Linked DNA regions of Homo sapiens: region 1 is linked to region 2. The links are contacts of gene promoters, found by promoter capture Hi-C in human tissues and cell types (Jung and others, 2019). All regions are on one chromosome and are shown on one strand. Each heading gives the region's core, a stretch centred on a gene start or on the middle of the fragment in contact. The rest is flanking DNA. Distances are from core to core; before and after follow the strand shown. Region 1 overlaps SHB (SH2 domain containing adaptor protein B). Region 2 holds the start of CLTA (clathrin light chain A).

What was found. The method cuts DNA at HindIII sites, captures the fragments that hold promoters and counts their contacts. A contact is called where the count stands out against the background at its distance.
Region 1: a contact is called between a fragment that was not itself captured here and the fragment with the promoter of CLTA in region 2, in 1 of the 25 tissues and cell types used here (hippocampus).

The regions. Positions count from the first base shown.
Region 1 is chr9:38,059,849-38,062,548 of GRCh38, reverse strand. The region is part of intron 1 of SHB (SH2 domain containing adaptor protein B); the gene reads left to right. Among named protein-coding and RNA genes, the nearest start is that of SHB, 8.0 kb to the left of the region's middle. RefSeq lists an enhancer at 2,456-2,700. The HindIII fragment of the contact is 7,557 bases long and covers 1-2,700 here.
Region 2 is chr9:36,189,665-36,192,364 of GRCh38, reverse strand. CLTA (clathrin light chain A) reads right to left here and starts at 1,444. Exons shown (of 5, transcript NM_001833.4): 1 at 1,092-1,444. The coding sequence starts at 1,308. RefSeq lists enhancers at 1,249-1,468, 1,184-1,809. The HindIII fragment of the contact is 4,306 bases long and covers 1-2,700 here.

The DNA.
Region 1 (2,700 bases), core at 21-2,520, 1.9 Mb before region 2:
GCACATGTTCATATGACGGCAGCAGGGTTCCAAGAAAAAGCAGGAGCGCATAAGGTCTCTTGAGGTTGGAAACTGGCATGGTGACCCTTCTGCTGCATTCTGTTGACTAAAGCAAATCATAAGGCCAGCCACAATTCAAGGAGAGAGGAGGAGCTGCAGTGTCCCATGGCAAAGGGCAGGGATACAGGCAAGCCATTAATTAGGGCCTTCGATGCCATCATCTACCTTATCCCCATATTCCGGATAAAGAAACTGAGGCTTAGAGAGGTTGATGACTTGCCTAATGTCACACAGCTGCAAAGTGATAGAGCAAGGATCACACCAGTGCAGTCTTGAGTTCAAAACCTATATGCTTCCTCTATTTTCCGTGGTTTCAATGGAAATAAGTAGTATGAGGCTTGGATATTTACTGGAATATATGTTACATGTCTCCTCCTCCCCTTTACTTAATGCTACTCTTCTTGCATCCCTCTGCTGTAATTTCTCCGCTTTCAGCCTTTGCTTTGGTGTCCCTAGAAGAGGCCCTAGAGCTGGCTTTTCTGTTTCTCTGTCTCCCATCTGCCTCAGAGTTCCAGAAATGAGATGTTAATGCAGCACTTGAGTTATTTTATAGAGAAATTCTGAGCACAGAGTTGGCACATCCCAAGGGACAGCTGCACAAAACGTGAGTCTTGTAACTGTCATGTCTTCTCATTCTAACACCAAGCATTCCTTCCCTTCAAGGATTTGCCGGGCTGTGTGTGCTCTGTTTGGAGGAAGAGACTGGCGGTACATTGGCCCTGATCAACAAGGAACTTAAGTTTCCTTGAAGGAGATCAGGTGACTGTCCTCTCTAATCTGACAATCTCAGAACATGACTGATTACCCCAGGGCTTAACCCCCATGACTTGACCCTATCCTCTCTTTGCCCCCAGAGCATTTCTGACCCATAAAAATTAGCTTTAAAAGTCAAATCTGAAACAGCTGTGGTTTCTTCTGATCAGTCAGCAAGGTCTAACTTGCCTGTGGTCAAGCCTTCCCCTGATTAGCTTAGCTTGTGCTGGGAGAGCCCAGAAGTGGTGGCCTGTGGGGAATGGGTAGGCCAGGCTTGGCCCTAGAAAATAAACTGGGACGTGTGACTTTCCAACAGAGCTCGCATGCTGGCTGGCTGACGGCAACACACCCTGTGGCTTTGTGAGGTTGGTTGATGGTGGTGGTAGGGGTGATGTATTTTCTATTTCTTTTTTTTTTTTTTTTTGAGACAGGATCTCACTCCTGTCCCCCATACTGGAGTGAGTGGCACGATTACAGCTCACTGCAGCCTCAACTTCCCAGGCTCAGGCGATTCTCCCACCTCAGCCTCTCAAGTAGCTGGGACTATAGTCACACGCCAGCACACCCAACTAATGTTTGTATTTTTTTATTGCCCAGGCTGATCTCAAACTCCTGGGCTCAAGTGATCCGTCTGCCTTGGCCTCCCAAAGTGCTGGGATTACAGGTGTGAGCCACTGTGCCCAGAAGGTTGTGCATTTTCCGCAGGACAAAGGTGGTGGTCGTCTCTGACTTCCTAGCTTTCATTTGGCCTGTGCTGACTGAGCAATTGCTATATGCAGGCCACCATCAGGAGCTGTGTGGATACAGGGATGAACCAGGGCCTGGATAGTGCCCGCCCCTGAAAAGCTTATCTTTTGGTTGAGGACACAGGAACCAAGGTTGAAACCCACATCTGTATGTCAGAATTTATCTGTAAATAAAGTGGTGTGGGTGAGCTAAAAGCTGTCTTGGCACAGAGACTGTTCTGGGCAGGGCCTTGATTTCATGGAGCCACAGGAGATGCAGGGTGAGGAGGAGGTATTTGAGTAAAAAAGGTACAATCACTTGAATTAAGGGAGTTTTCCACTACAGTAATATTAGCTAATACTTTTATTATACATACTCTGAGCTAGGTGCAGTTCTGTGTGCTTTGTATGTAACTTTACTCCTCACTACAGTCCTTTGAGGTAGCTACTACTACTGCTACTTCTATTTTCATTTTTACATATGAGGAAACCAAGGCACAGACAGGTTAAGTCACTTGTCTAAAGTCAGGTCGGTGGTTCATGCCTGTAATCCCAGCACTTCCTGTAATCCCAGCACATTGGGAGGCCAAGGTGGATCACCTAAGGTCGGGAGTTGGAGACCAGCCTGGCCAACATGGTGAAACACTGTCTCTATTAAAAATACAAAAATTAGCTCGGCGTGTTGGCACATGTCTGTAATCCCAGCTACTTGGGAGGCTGAGGTGGGAGAATTGCTTGAACCCGGGAGGCAGAGGTTGTAGTGAGCCGAGATCAGGCCACTGCACTCCAGCCTGGGCACCAAAGCGAGACACTATCTCAAAAAATAATAATAATAATAATAAAGTCAGACAGCCAGTAAGTGGCAGAGATGAGATGTGAAGCCAGATCTAGCATCTGTTTGTAACCACTGTGCCATACTACCTCAAGCTGCACAATCCCATGCCTGAATTTGCTTTATCATCTCTGCCTTATTTGTGGCTAGACTTACTCTTTGTAAAATGTCCCCTCTGTTGGCATGGTAGAAGTGACTGATTCCAACATTTATGTAAGTATTCCACAGCTTAAAGGGCACTTTCACACCGGTAATTTGTTTGCTTCTCAGAGCCACTCTGCGAGGAATGGGCTGTAATCTCCCCTTTGCAGATGGAGAAACAGAGGCTCA
Region 2 (2,700 bases), core at 195-2,694:
GCTGGATCTGAATGCCTTTACACAGAGCACTACTATAGTGCAGCAAAGCCTCAGTCTCCAACACTTCTACTGTCTCATGTCAAGCCAGCTTCTCTCGTATATGTTACCTACCTGGCTCCTTAAGGTTTGAATTTAGGGTAGACACTACTCCTATATGCCCCAGTAGTGCCCTATTCTCCCTTAGTTGGAATTTTTTAAGTGAATGAAAAGCCGTATTTCATTTCTTCTAGCTAAATTTCCTACTTCTTTGTATTATTAAGTAGGTCTTTTCCACTCATGATCCTAAGCATCACACACAGGTTAAGGCATCCAAAGGTCAAACTGCCATCCTACCTGCCCCATTTTTACTTGAGTTTGGCTGAGAACATTCTCTATTCACCTCTTCATCCCTCCCTGATTGGTTTAGGCTAATCTTGGGTTCTGCTTAGGCAATATTGCCTACCAAAGCTGTTCCCAGAGGAAGAGCTCCAGAAGTCCTAGCTGTAAATCAATCGCTCAACGATAGCAAACTCCTACCGCGCTTGGCAGTTCTTTCTCCAGACCTAGATCATCTTTCGAGTTCCCTACTCCCTCCTTCCTCCTCGTAATCCAACACTCTGTACACCTTAAGTGCTTAAATGCTGAACTGCATTGCTACTTTTGTTTGTATCTCTCAAAAACGATATTTCCATTCTTATTTTTTTCCGCCCTCCTTTTCTAATAACGAGTTCTGTGCTCGGCTCAGACTTATAAGCTTATAAGTCTGGAAAAACTGCGCCAATGCGGTTGCTTCAGAGACCGGACTAAAGGCACAGCAAATGCTTAATGAAAAGTTGCTGAATTGAACGGGCTTCTTCCGGCTCCGGAGCCTGCCACCCTACACTTGCTTTCTCGCTCCGCCCGCGCCCAGAAGCACTCAAACATGCTGAGAACCGAACAGGCTTCTCGAGCCTAGGTTTCTGAAAGACCGGGCCAGGGTCTCGTTTCCTGTTTGCACTGCTCCCTAACCTCCTAATTCAGCAAGGAGCACGAGTCACACAGAAGCTCTCGGACCCACTGTGGACCGAGTTTCCAGACAAGTCCTCTCGCCCCAAACGCGCCCGCACTCTCACCCGGACCCCCCGGCGGCTCGCCGTGCGGCTGGGGCCCGGGGGCGCCGCCGTCCAGGATGGCGAAGGCCTCGTCGTTCTCGATGCCCGCAATCTCGCTCTCTTGCTGCGCCAAGAAGGCCGCAGCCGGGTCTTCTTCGCCGGCGCCGGCCACTCCGTTCCCCAGCGCGGGACCGCCAGGGGCGCCGGCAGGGGCGCCGAACGGATCCAGCTCAGCCATGGCGGGCAACTGAACGGCACGGACACCAACGGTGAGACAAAAACCAACCGACCCACCGACACCACGCCCGGCAGCCACCGCTGTGGTGCCGACTGGGAGAGGAGGACAAGCGCCAGGAGGGAGACGGGTAAAGCGGAAGCCCTACCCGTGTATCCGGTCGGTCTAGGCGGTGTTGCAGAGCCGAAAAGGGAACAACCAATCAGAGGACAACAATGGTTCAGGAGCTACCCAATCAGCAAGTGGAGGGGCGGTCCCCCTAAAACAACTCGTGACTGGGGTAGGGCGGGAGGTGAGGGAGGTGAGCTGCGCGGGCCCCGGGAGGCGGAAGTGCTGCCTGATAGGGAGCGTCCTACCCACCCCGTCTGCTGGAGCTGGACTGACCAGGGACGGCCACCCCTGAGGGGACTCTAGTGCTGCACTGGGAGGTGAGGTGAAGTTAGGGCAGCGACGATTGGCCGATTACTGAAGAGGCATGCCACTTAGGCTTTCTGAACCTCAGTTTCCTCATTCGTAAAATAGAAACAAGAATCCTGCTCTTGCGCCCCCTCCCGGGATTATTAGAAGATTGAATCCTAAAAAAAAAGAAGAAGAAGATTGAATCCTTTTATGGATTTGAGGGTCCCTGGCTTTATAAATTTAAAATATTTAATTCTTTCAGCCAGCCTGGATTATTTGCTCCCTTAGAGCCCATAGATTTACTGTAATTGATTCAGTCCACTCCGATTTTTCTCGCCCATAAGTATTTTTATTTAAAAATGAATATATCTTATCTTCTTCAACGAAGCACTTTTGCAGCCATTACGTCTTTTCGGAGCTAGACAGAAGTTACTAAACCTGGAAAATTCCTTAAGGATCACTTGCTTCAAAGGGAGACACGGTGGCCCTGCTGTTCAAGGAGCGTCAGTGACCCAGAGAGTCAGTGACCAAGAGGAAACGCCTGTCTCCTGGGGACTTCCAAGATACTAGCTACAGTCTCTTATATTTACACCTTTCCTCCCTAAGGACAGCAGGAAAAAGAAAGTTCCGTGTTTCTTTTTAAATCAGGGAGATGTTAATAGCTACATGGCTCATTTTGTCTACACCACAGAAATAACAGTGGTTCCAGTTAATCATGCTCATGTTGAGGGGGAGTGCTTATGCAGGGGCCACCAGAAGACCCCTCTCCTTCACTACCACCACCACCACCCTAAGAAATGAAAAGCCAAAAAAAGAAACCAAAAAACCAGAGGTCAACAAGAAGCTTCCAGAGGTAGTCAGCAGGGGACAAGAAAGTGTTTTTATAAAAAACGCACATATCTTTGATGACAAAAAAAAAGGGATAGCTATGAAGGAAAAATGAAGCAAATAAAAATTATTTAAAGCATATATTTACTTAAAGCATAATTTTAAAGT